Linked DNA regions of Homo sapiens: all the other regions are linked to region 3. The links are contacts of gene promoters, found by promoter capture Hi-C in blood cells and fetal thymus (Javierre and others, 2016). All regions are on one chromosome and are shown on one strand. The core of a region is centred on a gene start or on the middle of the fragment in contact, and the rest is flanking DNA. Distances in the headings are between cores, read along the strand shown.

Region 1 (2,775 bases), core at 111-2,610, 540 kb before region 3:
AGGGGCAGGGAACTTCAGAAAGCTGAGTCTGTATTAGCAGGTGAATGCTGCCAGGGGAGGGGGGTCCTGTGTTCTTGTAGTTGGTATTTCTGTTCATGGGCCCACTGAACTCCTTCCTCTGAGGCTACAGTGGGGAATTTCTGTGGAGAGAAAGCTCATGTGTCTTGGCCTGGCATCACCCTGATCAGGACTGCTTTGCTACAAAAGTCCATTGTGCAGCTTATGAGTTAGTTCCATGATAAACCGAGACAGGCCTTGCTTTCCTGTAGATGCCGCAGAGCTCTGTGCATGCAGTCTGGCAGGTGAGTAAGCTTGGCCCCTGTGGGTGGCGGGGTTTGCCCTGTGTGAGGGACAGGGTGAGAGCTTGCACCATGGCAGCCTGGGTCAGTTTACACTGATCAGGGATTTCATGTAATGTATTTTCTTATTGTGTTGATTTTCAAGCATGACCCTCAGTCACACTTACACATCGCTAGCAGGGCATCACTGAATGCTTGCCATCAGTGGAGAGCTGTACTGTGTTTGATGCCTAATTGTTGGAGGGCGGGTCAGGCACACTCGAATAGCACACACCATCATGTGTAGGTGAGGAGCAAATGCACTTTTAGGGGAACGAACTTCTGGGGAGCTGTCTAGAGTTAGGACTTCTGTCGATCAACTTCTGCCTTTCCTTAAATTTTGGTGGAATTATAGTTCCATTAAAATGATCCTTAGCCAGTCGATTCCCATGATTGATTGTTGATGCCTGCCTTCAGCTTGGGAGGGGACAGCGGTAGCATGCATGCCATTGATCTTGGCTTCCCCAGGTCTCAGCTTGGGGCTTAAGGAGGGGACAGCTATCTGCAGCACAGCGAGCCAGGAGCATGGCATTGGCTGGGAACTGGAGCTCAGTCAGAGGGGCCCAGGGGGCCGGGTGCCTGGGATTTAAGAGCAACGACGTACATTGTCTAAGTAGGGCTGCGGGGAGCGGGTGGGGGAGTCTGGCTTGGTCTCCATAGGGCCTTTGTTGCTCCTTAGGCATCTTTTGATCTAGAAAATGGCCCTTTCTAAGCCGTCTTTAGTGCAGCCTGCTTCCTCCCTCCTGCTTAGGCTTTGCCCTGTGGCCTCGGCAGGGGCGCTTCCCAGGGCATTGGACCCCCCACCTTTGCACTGCCGTTAGAGCCCCTCCCAGGCGCATTCTCCTCCTACATATAATGTACGTTCTTAGAATGTATTTTTTTGAACATTTAAAAAATTGAAATATTCAAAATAAAGATAAATTAAAAAGAAGTTATTGTAATCATTGCTACTTGGAGATGTTAAACTTGTGCCGAATGTCCTTTCAGACCTTTTGATGTAGACACATCAATACTTATTTTATTTAAACATTTTTATTTTAAAAACTTGAAGTGTAACGTACCTGCAGAAAAGTACTCAGATCGTGGGTATAGCTTAATTATCACAAAGTAAGTGGACCCATAATCCTCTGACCAGTCCCTTCTAGAACCTTCCTTAGCAACTATTCATGCATGCCCAAGGGGTGGGCACAAGGGGTCAGTGTTACCTGTTTTTTGAACTTTATATAAATAGAATTACACCCATACGTGTGTGTGCTCACGTGTATTTCTCTTTTTATGAAAATAGGCTCATTCTGTAAGCCCCATTCGGTAACTTTTTTCATTTAACAGTATGTGATAACCACAAATCTGTGTCCGTAAGTACTGATCTTTCTTATAAATCACTGACTGTGTGATTTATAAATCACACTGAAATGTGTGCCACTGTGTTTAAACCATCTCATTATTGTTGGGCATTTAGGTTATTTCCATTTTATTTCTTTCCTTAAGATAAAGTCCTGGGAGGGGCTGGCTGGTCAGAGGCTGAAGGTTCTTGGTTGTCCCACTGCCCAGTGTGCCCTTGCTGGGTCCCAGCCCTGGCCTCCCTGCCCTGGGGGCTTCCCAGCCTCCTTGCTGTGGAGCTTCACTGTGGACTTTGTCCACTGAGGATGGGACCCCCAAACTGACTGACACCTTGTGCCTTGGCTTTGAGCAAATACTAATCAGATTTGTTTTATTTTCCAACAGCGCTGCGTCGTGCTGCGGTTTCTGAAGTTTCCTCCAAATAGGAAGAAGGTAAGATGGGTGGGTTTGCACCCAGACTTACAACAATTATTTAAGAAAACTCTGATTTTTTTTTCCGATGTAGAAACATTGATGCTAGTTGTAGCATTCAAAGATGATACAAGCATTCAGTGCAGAAAGTGGTGTGTCCATCATTCCTGATATAAAACTGACTGGGTCCAGCACGTTAACCCATGTGTCACTGTGGTAGTCTATGTGGCGCTCAGCCAGGAGCTGCCCTGGCCTGGCCTGTAGGTCCTGCTCAGAGGGCCCTGCTTGTGGCGAGGACCCCAGGATCAGGCAAGCTTTGCGTTGCCGAGTTCCATAGCACCTGCTGCCTCAGTTTCCCCATCTGTGGAATTGTGTCTATGAAAATAGAGTCTCCAGTGTGGTGGTAGACAGTCTGTGTTAAACATTGTGGTGGGAGGGGGTCGTTAGGTTTCTCTTCTCTGAGTCATCCAAGCAAAATGCCATGGACCACCCGTGAAAAAGCATTGCCCTCTCTTTTTTGACCACTGAGTTGCAGCTTTCTGTGCAAATCTCTGTTGGTCCTGGGGTGCATACCGAGTCGCGGAGGCTTCCTGCATTCAGGGCCCTTCTCTGCTCCCCATCTGATGCGTGGGTCCTGTGAGGGGACACATGCAGCTGAGCTGGGGGTGAGCTCCTGGATGGTGGC
Region 2 (2,777 bases), core at 226-2,725, 650 kb before region 3:
AGGAGACTCAGGAAACCTGACGACTGAATGCAACTGGATCCTGGACCACAAAAACAATACTGAAACTCTCCAGTATGGTGTTGGGCCCTCGTGCAATTAGAGTGTGGACTGTGCATTAGATAGTGTCAGTACCCTGTGTGCTGTGATTTCTGCTGTCATGGCTTCTTTCTAATTTGGTCTTGAGGGAGAGTGACCATAAGCCAAGATAGCCACTCTCTAGGAGAACCGAATGGGTGTGGGGTTCAGGTGAGATACAATGAGAAAGTAAAATTAAAAGGTACAAAACAGAAGGAATTTATTATTCTTAGGTTCCGGAGAGGTTAGGGATGCCTAAGAGAGGCGGACAAGCAGATGGAGAGGGGCAGTGAGAGACGGTGGGAAGGAAGGGACTATGGCTGTGCTAGGGTCCATGGAAATCATCCTTTAGGATTTCCCTTGGGGCCTGTGGACTGGCTAAAGAAAATACGAGGGAAGGGTGAACTCATCTGCACTGATACTGGCCATTAGGTGCTATGGCGGTCAGCGGCTGTGGGGTGTGTTGCGCTTTAGGTCAATGAGATAAAGAATAAACGAGTTATCTCACACACCACCATATACGGAGAAGTGTTACCTACGCCAAGGCGAAGGGTACGACTGGCTTTCAAACAACTTAAGTCAGGCCTAAAAATAGATGCGGAGACAACAATTATATTTACCACGTTTATGACCCTGTATTAATGGAAATGTCTTTATTCCCAAGAAATAGACCTTGAAGGACTGAGGGGCGGTGCTGAGGTTCCCGCTGGCCCCTGGGCGCCCCCTGCTGGCCCGTCCTCCTCCCGCCCCCAGACGTCTGCACAGAGCATGCGTCACACCGTCCACGGGTTTCCAGCAGCAGCCGTTCACCCGCGCTCTCGGATGCGCTTCTAGCTCGTGGCCTCCCGGGCTCTGTCCGCGTTGTTCGTCCCACGGTCGGGAGCCCAGTCCTGCCGCCCCGCACCCGCCTCCCCCTGGGGGTTCTCCCGGCAGCCGTCTTGCCACCCCGCGTGGCCGCCGGCTGCCAGAGGCACAGGGGAGCGCGAGGCCCGGCGACCGAGCAGTGTCCCCGGCTCTGAGTGTGGGGAAGGCCGCGGGGCCGCGCCCACTCGACCGCCGTCCAGGGGACTGCAAGGCGCCGGTACATCCGGCTCGACGCTGGCGGCGCAGGCCAATCACGGACGGGGACGGGTGGGCGCGGGGCTGGACGGGTTTTGTAGTCGGTGCGCTAGCGGGACTACTGTCCCCACAGCCCCCTGGGCCACATTGGCGTCAGTGGCTGCGCCCGAGGGCCCGCCCCTCACAGAGCATGGGCCAATCATAGCCGGGGGCCGGGCGGGCGCCGGGCATGATGGACCTTGTGGTCGGAGCGCAGGCAGGACTCCAGCCCCCAGCGGGCCCCGCGCGCCGGAGGGGAGGAGCCGTGCGGCGGCGCGGGCGGGCGGGCGGCCGTCGGGGCAGGGCGGCGGCGGCGGCGGCAGCGGCGGCGGCTGAGGAGGGCCCGGCCTGCGAGAGCCTCAGTGGGAGCCGGCTCAGCCCTCGGCCACCATGTCGGCGCCGTCGGAGGAGGAGGAGTACGCGCGGCTGGTGATGGAGGCGCAGCCGGAGTGGCTGCGCGCCGAGGTGAAGCGGCTGTCCCACGAGCTGGCCGAGACCACGCGTGAGAAGATCCAGGCGGCCGAGTACGGGCTGGCGGTGCTCGAGGAGAAGCACCAGCTCAAGCTGCAGTTCGAGGAGCTCGAGGTGGACTATGAGGCTATCCGCAGCGAGATGGAGCAGCTCAAGGAGGTGAGCCGAGCCGCCCTGCCCTGCGACCCCCGCCCGGCGCCGGGGCCTGTGGGCGTCGTCCCTGGCACCAGGGCGGCCAAGGTCAGCTTGCCAAGCGGGGGCCGGCAGGGGTGGGCCGCCGGGGCGGAGGGGGCACGGGCAGTATGTGGGAGTGGGCCCGGCCTTGGCTAGCAGGCCGGTGCCGCGGCCGTTGCAGACGCCGCTAATGCAGGGGTCCGGGCGCCTTGTCGCCTCCTGCAGCTGCCCGCCTGCTTCTGTGCGGACCTGGGCGGCCCCGGCGGGGCGGGGCTTCGTAAGGGCTGATGCTTTGCGGTGGTCGCTGTTCCGGGTGTGTCTGAGTGTGGGGTGGGGTTGGGAGGGCAGTGGCTGAGCCGGGAGCTGAGGCCACGGATGCTGGTGACCCGCTGGGAGAGGCCGAGGGTGGGCCTGGGTCTGGGTGGCTGCGGCTCTGTCACCTTCAGAGAAAGCACTTCCCCTCTCTGGGCGCAGCTACTTTCGGAGCGTTTCTGCTTCTTTCATGAGTGCCTCCGAGGTGGGGAAAGGTCGTGGACAGCGGCCTAAGTGAGTAGGGGCTCGGGGTTGCACGTGGAGGTTGCCCCTGGCATGGGTCCCCCAGTACCCTTGCCCCAGGCCCAGCGCTGTGTCCTCATGGCCGGGATTGCGCTCCCACCAGCTAGCATGACTTCCCTGGCCCACTTCCTGTCCAGCCCCGCTTCTCGGGCCCTTCCCCTCGCTGTGGCTTGCTGTGTTCCTCTTGGACGGAGACCTCAGTGGTCTGTGTCATTCCCACTGGGGGGAGAGTAGGTTAGACCACCAGGCTGGTCGAGGGTCTCCAGGCGGCAGGGCAGCGGGAGTCTTGGACAGTCCTTCCCCAGCTTCTCTTCTCCCGTTCCCTGACTCCATAGCGTTGTTTGCAGGAATTGCTTTCTGGGAGGATACACCAGGGTTTGGATCCAGGCTGTGCCCCTTGCTAG
Region 3 (2,700 bases), core at 144-2,643:
CAAATCCATAAGAAGGCAAAAATAACCAATAGAAAAATGGATTAAGAATATGAATTGGCGATTCATACAGTCTATAAATGCCAATAAACATATAAGAAGCTGCACAACCTCATGAGTAACCAGAAGCATCAATAATAAAGGATAGTGAGGTATCATTTTATCTCCATTAAACTGGCAAATTTTTTTAAAAGATTGATAATATCCATCATGGACTAGAGCATAGAAAAACTTCCAAATTATTTTAATTGGTTGAGCCATTTTGGCAGTACTTATCAAAATTAATAACGTGCATAGTCTTCAGATATATCCCATGTTGAAAAAACTGGTCAGAAAAACTCCAACATGCACAGAAAGATATACACACAAGGAACATCGACAGTTATGGCAGCATTATTTGTAATAGGGGAAAGGTGGGAACAACATAAGTATTCACCAATAGGGAAACGTTTACATAAAATGGAACGATGAATATACATAAATTATTCCATGGAAGTCTTCAGCCATTAAATATGAGATATATTAGGAAAAAAATGCTAGAAAAAAAATTTAAAAAAAGTTGTAGAAAAGTCTTGTCCCTATGATCTCAATTATATTTAAGAAATCCAATCCAATTAAGTATGTGCGCGTGCATACTGTTTGCATATGCATTGGAAGGCTCTAAAAGGTTCTTTACCAAACTGCTATATGATTTAATACCTGCAAAGCCTTGGCCTATGTCTGACAAAACAGGAAGTGCTATATGGGTTGGCTATTTTTGTGTATAATTATGCATTTCTTAATGATAATGCATTGCTGGATTACTTATGCTACTAAACGTAAACGTATTGGCCAGGCGCGGTGGCTCACGCCTCTAATCCCAGCACTTTGGGAGGCCGAGGCAGGCGGATCACCTGAGGTCAGGAGTTTGAGACCAGCCTGACCAACATGGAGAAACCCCGTCTCTACTAAAAATACAAAATTAGCCAGGCGTGGTAGCCCACGCCTGTAATCCCGGCTACTCGGGAGGCTGGGGCAGGAGAATCGCTTGAACCCGGGAGGCGGAGGTTGCGGTGAACCGAGATCACGCCATTGCACTACAGCCTGGGCAACAAAAGCGAAACTCCGTCTCAAAAAAAAAAAAATAAAGTAAACGTATTGCAATCATTTTAACTCTCTGCGCCCAGCTGATGACCAAGTGTAAGGCCCGTTCATTACTACTTTCTCCATCCTGAATCCAGCAGGGAGGGTAATAGGACACAAGGTAAACAATTCTTGGAAAAACTGCGGCATCCCACCTGACCCCGTCCAGCCTCCTGTCAACCAGTGCGCAAGTGCGAGTAGGCGGTGCCCAGCGCTCCGCCGCCCCGCCCTCTGCGGAGGTGATAACGACACTGAGCAGCGACGCGCACTTTTGGGACGCGCTTGTGACCCGCCTTCCGGAAGGAAGCGGCTAACTATGGCGACCGCCACGGAGCAGTGGGTTCTGGTGGAGATGGTACAGGCGCTTTACGAGGTGGGCTCCGCGCCATTAGCGGTCCGCGACCACACCCGGGCCCGGGGAGGGTGGGAGGACGCGTGTGGATTTGTGGCCTGAGACCTCGGCGGGACTGGCTCGGTCACGCCCAGACTCGGTGCCTCTTGCTGGAAGGACTGCCGGGAGCTTCTAGTCCCAGCGGTTGAGTGTAGGGAGGAACGGGCGGGGGCGGGGGCTGGGACTGAGGGTCTCGGTTTGAATTCTTATGCTCCGGGTCCCCTGGAAGCTCCGGAAAGGAACACGTGTAAGGGGACGCAGGAGACAGGTCTGCAAAAACCAGAGTTTAGACGGACGATAAAACGGAGTGGTGAAAATGAGTGGAACACCTTCGTCTGGGAAGGTCCTAAGGAAGTCAGCTCTTTGGAACTACGGTACAGTTCGTTGGGGAATAAAATTGTAATAAATTGGAGTTTGTTTTTGTCGAAAAGAAATCAAGTGACTTAGGATTTGTGAATAAAAAATAGTTTGTCATTCTTCTGCGTACATCAGTTTTCTGTCTTATAAAGATACAACTAGTTTAGTCGATTTTTATTTATTTATTTTTGTTTTTTTTTTTTGAGACGGTGTTTCGCACTTGTTGCTCAAGCTGGAGTGCAAGGGCGTGATCTCGGCTCACTACAACCTCCGCCTCCCGGGTTTAAGCGATTCTCCTGCCTCAGCTTCCCAGGTAGCTGAGATTACAGGCATGTGCCACCATGCCCGGCCAATTTTGTATTTTTATTAGAGACGGGGTTTCTGCATGTTGGTCAGGCTGGTCTCGAACTCCCGACCTCAGGTGATCCGCCCGCCTTGGCCTCCCAAAGTGCTGGGATTATAGGCTTGAGCCACTGCACCTGGCCGTAGACTTTTAAAGGAAGAATAGTTAAGAGTTTTTTGAAGCCTAGTTATTTCAGATACATAAGATAATAAGAAACCAGAATGTCAATCTTAGTGTTCATTCATTTAATAACTGAGAGTCCCCGTGCTGTCTTGCAGAGCTATTCATTGGGCACTGAAGAACTTATTTTATTTTATTTTATTTTTTAAAGACAGGGTTTCACTCTGTCGCCCAGGCTAGAGTGCAGTGGTGCGATCAGCTCACTGCTGCGTTGACCTCCCAGACTCAAGCGATCCTCCCACCTCAGACTCCCGAGTAGCTGGGACCACATACCACCATGCCCAACTAATCTTTTTTTTTTTTTAATAGA
Region 4 (2,866 bases), core at 34-2,533, 670 kb before region 3:
ATCAACCCATCAACCATTGAGATCGTGAGAGTAGGGCCTTAATGATGATGTGGAGGTTCACACCTGTAATCCCAGCACTTTGGGAGACAGAGGTGGGTGGATCACTTGAGGCCAGGAGTTTGAGACCAGCCTGGCCAACATGGCAAAATCCCGTCTTTACTAAAAATACAGGCCGGGCACAGTGGCTCAAGCCTGTAATCCCAGCACTTTGGGAGGCCCAGGTGGGTGGACCAAGAGGTCAGGAGATCAAGACCATCCTGGCTAACACAGTGAAACCCCATCTCTACTAAAAATACAAAAAAATTAGTCGGGCATGGTGGCAGGCACCTGTAGTCCTAGCTACTCGGGAGGCTGAGGCAGGAGTGTGGTGTGAACCCCAGAGGTGGAGCTTGCAGTGAGGCTAGATCATGCCACTGTGCTCCAGCCTGGGCAACAGAGAGAGACTCTATCAAAAAAAAAACAGAAAACAAAAATTAGCCAGGTGTGGTGGTGCACACCTGTAATTCCAGCTACTTGGGAGGCTGAGGCACAAGAATTGCTTGAGCCAAGGAGGCATAGGTTGCGGTGAGCTGAGATCATGCCACTGCACTCCAGCGGGACACAGAGTGAGACTCTGTCTCACTAAATAAATAAATAATGATTTTTTTTTAAACGAGGGGATTAGTGTCCTTATAAGAAGAGCGACACACCTGAGAGCTAGCATGCTGGTGCCCGAGCTCTCTCTCACTCAACCCATTGTGAAGACACAGTGAGAAAGCTGCCACTACAAGCCAAGCAGAGAGCCCTCACCAGAACCCGACCTTGCTGGCACCTTGATCTTGAACTTCCATCCTCCAGAACTGCAAGGGAGTAAATTTCTTTTGTTTAAGCGCAGCATGTGGTATTTTGTTATAGCAGCCTCAACTGATGACACATGTTTACACCATCTGACCTAGGTTTGGGTTGACCCCAGAAGACCAAATTCGACTGGCTGGGACTGAGAAGGGAAGAGAGCAAAGTCCAGTATGAAACCTAAATTCTAAGATGACTTTAACTCTTAACAGTTTACTTCATTACTTAATAGGAAAAACGTAAACTCCTAAAGTTGTCTTACATCTGAATTTTGGGAGATGGAATGACATGTAGTGAAGGTGAGGGATCCTCCCGTTTCTACTTAAAACATTAAGGCCATTCAGTGGCTTTAATGAAAAGACTAGGCAAGCTTTCAACTTAGACACTGTCTTTCTCACAAGTTCTGCTAAAATTTCCTATTAATATGTTCAGTGTCTGAATTGAATTTTGTGTTAGCCCACATGGTACCTTCTCATTGTTTTCAGTATTCAGCAAGTGGCCCACTTGACAGCTTCTTTCCATCTAGAAGCTTCACTTTCTCTCTACTTTCCAAAATCTAGACAGGAAAGTTAACTCATAAAATCTAAAAATGATTTTAAAATCTTGTCACTGGTAGACAGAGAGAGCACTACCTACCATCCTAAAATGGTACAAAGACTGCTCCTTTTAGTTTTTCTTTGTAAATATCTGTGGTCTTCAAAAATAGATCATATTTCAGCTACACATATTAACACCCACACAAAAACATTACATTTTATTTTAGCTTAAAAGTGAGCATACTATATGGACTTTTAAAATAATACAGCATGAAGTCTTACTTTTCCCCACCATGATCCACTTCAAAGCCATCTGTAATGTGTCAGCCACTTCTGTGAGGTCAGCCATATGTGCATTACATGAAACATGCTTATGGAAATATTAAAAATTAGAAATCATTTAAAAGTGCATCTCAGGAAGCAGGTGCACACTCTTACAGAATGTATTTGTAATTCTTTTTTATTTTATTTTATTTTATTTTATTTTATTTTATTTTATTTTTCTTGAGACAGAGTCTTGCTCTGTCTCCAGGCTGGAGTGCAGTGGCACGATTTCGGCTCACTGCAACCTCTGCCTCCTGGGTTCAAGCAATTCTCCTGCCTCAGCCTCCCCACTAGCTGGGATTACAGGCATGCAACACCACGCTGGCTAATTTTTGTATGTTTAGTAGAGACGGGGTTTCACCATGTTGGCCAGGATGGTCTTGATCTCTTGACCTCGTGATCCACCCATCTTGGCCTCCCAAAATGCTGGGATTACAGGCGTGAGCCACCACGCCTGGCCTATAATTCTTTTATAAACATTATGTGTTGAAAATGGGACATATTAATCTGTAGAAAGATAACTGTACAACCTAAGAATACTCACAATTTATTTCCTATACTAAGATACATCAAATCCTAATTAGATACTCCCTTCTTGCTGTTTTTAAGCATTTAAACAAAAATGTTAAAGCTGCCAGATTTTTTAAACTGTAAATAACTTTTAAACTGTGCTCAGAGTTAGATCTCAATAGACTTTTTTTTTTTTTTTTTCAGATGGAGTCTCACCCTGTCGCCCAGGCTGGAGTGCAGTGGCGCGATCTCGGCTCACTGCAAGCTCTGCCTCCTGGGTTCATGCCATTCTCCTGCCTCAGTCTCCCGAGTAGCTGGGACTAGGCACCCGCCACCATGCCCGGCTAATTTTTTTTCTTTTTTTTTTTTTTTTGTATTTTTAGTAGAGACGGGGTTTCACCATGTTAGCCAGGATGGTCTCGATCTCCTGACCTCATGATACGCCCGCCTCGGCCTCCCAAAGTGCTGGGATTACAGGCGTGAGCCACCGCGCCCAGCCCTCTATAGACATTTTAAAAATAGAAACAGAAAACACTTTTTTAAAAAGATATAAAAATTAAAGTTAACATGAAAATTAAGCATTTAAAGAATGATTTTATGCTTTCAATATGGAATAACAGGGATCAGATTTGCCTTTAAGCCTGTAACAAATAAACAGAAACAGA
Region 5 (2,700 bases), core at 96-2,595, 580 kb before region 3:
AGAAGAGATTGGGGAAATATATTCAGCATCCTTAAAGAAACAAAATTCCAACCAAGAATGTCATATCCAGCTAAATTAAGCTTCATAAGCAAAGGATAAATAAAATCCTTTTTACACAAGCAAACACTAAGGAAATTCATTATTACCAGACTGCCTTACAAGAGGTCCTTAAGGGAGTGCTAAATATGGAATACAAAACAAAAGACTGTTGCCTGCCACCATAAAAACACATAGTCCACTGACACTATAAAGCAACTATACAATCAAGTCTGTGTAACAACCAGTTGACAACATGACTGGATCAAATCCTCACATATCAATATTAACCTTGAATGTAAATGAGAAAACATCCCACTTAAAAGGCACAGAGTGGCAAGTTGGATAAAGAAGCAAGACCCAACTGTATGCTGTCTTCAAGAGACCCATCTCTTGGCTAGGAGTGGTGGCTCACATCTCTAATCCCAGCACTTTAGGAGGACAAAGCAGGAGGATCACTTGAGCCCAAGAGTTGAAGACCAGCCTAGGCAACATAGTGAAAGAATTTAAAAAGAGAGAGACCCATCTTATATGCATGACACTCATAAGCCCAAAGTAAAGCAATGGAGAAAGATCTGTGAAGCAAAGAGAAAACGAAAAAGAACAAGAGTTACTATTCTTACTTCAGACAAAATATAAACCAACAATGCTCAAAGAGGACAAAGAAGGACATTCCATTAATGATAAAGAGTTCAATTCAACTATCCTAAATATATATGCATCCCAAATTGGAGCACCCAGATTCATAAAACAAATTATTAGAGACCTACAAAGAGACTTAAATAACCACATAATAATAGTAGGGGACTTCAACACCCTACTGACAGTGTTGGACAGAACATTGAGACAGAAAACTAATAAAGGTATTTGGGACCTAAACTCAACACTTCACCAAATGCACCTGACAGACATCTACAGAATGCTCCACCCAACAACAGAATATACGTTTTTCTGTTCTTATGTACACATGGCACATACTCTTAAGATTGACTGCACACTCAGCCATAAAGCAATTCTCAACAAGTTAAAAAAAAAACAAACCAACCACACTCTCAACCACAGTGCAATAAAAATAGAAATTAAAAACAAGAAGATCTCTCAATACCATATATGGAAATTAAACCACTGGCTCCTGAATGACTTTGGGTAAAGAATGAAATTAAAGCAGAAATCAAGAAACTCTTTGAAACTATTGAAAACAAGGATGCAACATACCAGAATATCTGGGACACAGCTAAAGCAGTGGTAAGAGGAAAGTTTATAGCTGTGAGCACCCACATCAAAAAGTCAGAAAGATCTCAAATTAACAACCTAACATCACACTTAGAGGAACTAGAAAAACAAGAGCAAACCAACCCTAAAGCCAGCAGAAGAAAAATAACTAAAATGAGAGCTGAACTGAACAAAGTTGACATGTGAAAACCCATACAAAAGATCAATGAAACCAAAAGTTGGTTCTTTGAAATACTATCGCAAGGACAAAAAACCAAACACCGCATGTTCTCACTCACAGGTGGGAATTGAACAATGAGAACACATGGACACAGGAAGGGGAACATCACACACCCGGGCCTGTTGTGGGGTGGGGGGAGGGGGGAGGGATAGCATTAGGAGATATACCTAATGTTAAATAACGAGTTAATGGGTGCAGCACACCAACATGGCACATGTATACATATGTAACTAACCTGCACGTTGTGCACATGTACCCTAAAACTTAAAGTATAATAAAAAAAAAGAGAGTAAACCCCAGGTGTGGACAGACATGTAACCCATAGGTCTTCCCTGCAGTGGAGCGCTATTGATCTCACAGCCAAGAACAGTGCTGAATTTGTCCTCTCTGAAGAAGATAGAGTCAAAAAGTACAAGGAGTGAATGACTGAGCTACTATACTCAATTTTATTATTATTATCAATTAATTAACTTATTTTAATTGTCAAATAAAAATGATATATGTTTATGGTGAAAAAAAAAATGAGACTCATAGACCTCTAGCTAGACTGATAAAGAAAAAAAGAGAGAGAAGATCCAAAGAAACACAATCAGAAATGACAACGGTGACATTACCACTGGCCTCACTGAAATACAAGAAACCCTCAGAAAGTATTATGAACATCTCTATGCACACAAACTAGAAAACCTAGAAGAAATGGATAAATTGCTGTAAACATTCAACTTACCAATATTGAACCAGGAAGAAATTGAATACTTGAACAGACCAATAACAAGTTCCAAAATTGAATCAATAGTAACAACAACAACAACAACAACAAAAACCTACCAACCAGAAAAAGCCCTGGACCAGATGGATTCACAGCTGAATTCTACCAGACATGTAAAGAATAGCTGGTACAAATCCTACTGAAACAATTCTAAAAAATTGAGGAGACAGACCTCCTCCCTGATTTATTCTATGAGGCCGGAATCATTCTGATACCAAAACCTGGTGAAAAAAATAAAACTTTAAGCTAATATCCCTGATAAAATTAGATGCAAAAATCCTCAGCAGAACACTAGCAAATTGAATCCAGCAGCACATTTAAGAGCTAATCCACTATGACCAAGTAAGCTTTATTCCTGGGATGCAAGGTTGGTTCAACATATACAATTAAATAAATGTGATTTCTCACATAAACAGAACTGAAAACAAAAACCCCATTATCA

Evidence for each region. Contacts are between HindIII fragments. The CHiCAGO score rates a contact against its expected background, and 5 or more counts as called.
Region 1: a fragment that was not itself captured here is called in contact with the fragment with the promoter of SPTLC1 in region 3 in 3 of 17 cell types (fetal thymus, naive CD4 T cells and activated CD4 T cells); the score reaches 5.9 in fetal thymus.
Region 2: a contact is called between the fragment with the promoter of BICD2 here and the fragment with the promoter of SPTLC1 in region 3, in 1 of 17 cell types (naive CD8 T cells). The highest score is 6.3, in naive CD8 T cells.
Region 4: a fragment that was not itself captured here is called in contact with the fragment with the promoter of SPTLC1 in region 3 in 7 of 17 cell types (total CD8 T cells, naive CD4 T cells, naive CD8 T cells and 4 more); the score reaches 9.2 in total CD8 T cells.
Region 5: a contact is called between a fragment that was not itself captured here and the fragment with the promoter of SPTLC1 in region 3, in 1 of 17 cell types (naive CD8 T cells). The highest score is 5.2, in naive CD8 T cells.

The regions. Positions count from the first base shown.
Region 1 is chr9:92,657,970-92,660,744 of GRCh38, reverse strand. IPPK (inositol-pentakisphosphate 2-kinase) reads left to right here. Exons shown (of 13, transcript NM_022755.6): 2 at 2,064-2,111. Among named protein-coding and RNA genes, the nearest start is that of IPPK, 11 kb to the left of the region's middle. The HindIII fragment of the contact is 2,093 bases long and covers 314-2,406 here.
Region 2 is chr9:92,763,531-92,766,307 of GRCh38, reverse strand. BICD2 (BICD cargo adaptor 2) reads left to right here and starts at 1,475. Exons shown (of 7, transcript NM_001003800.2): 1 at 1,475-1,803. The coding sequence starts at 1,564. RefSeq lists a silencer at 785-1,524. The HindIII fragment of the contact is 10,857 bases long and covers 1-2,777 here.
Region 3 is chr9:92,114,106-92,116,805 of GRCh38, reverse strand. SPTLC1 (serine palmitoyltransferase long chain base subunit 1) reads left to right here and starts at 1,393. Exons shown (of 15, transcript NM_006415.4): 1 at 1,393-1,492. The coding sequence starts at 1,436. RefSeq lists an enhancer at 831-890. The HindIII fragment of the contact is 11,716 bases long and covers 1-2,700 here.
Region 4 is chr9:92,787,752-92,790,617 of GRCh38, reverse strand. No RefSeq gene overlaps it. Among named protein-coding and RNA genes, the nearest start is that of BICD2, 24 kb to the right of the region's middle. The HindIII fragment of the contact is 159 bases long and covers 1,204-1,362 here.
Region 5 is chr9:92,695,160-92,697,859 of GRCh38, reverse strand. No RefSeq gene overlaps it. Among named protein-coding and RNA genes, the nearest start is that of IPPK, 26 kb to the right of the region's middle. The HindIII fragment of the contact is 2,525 bases long and covers 83-2,607 here.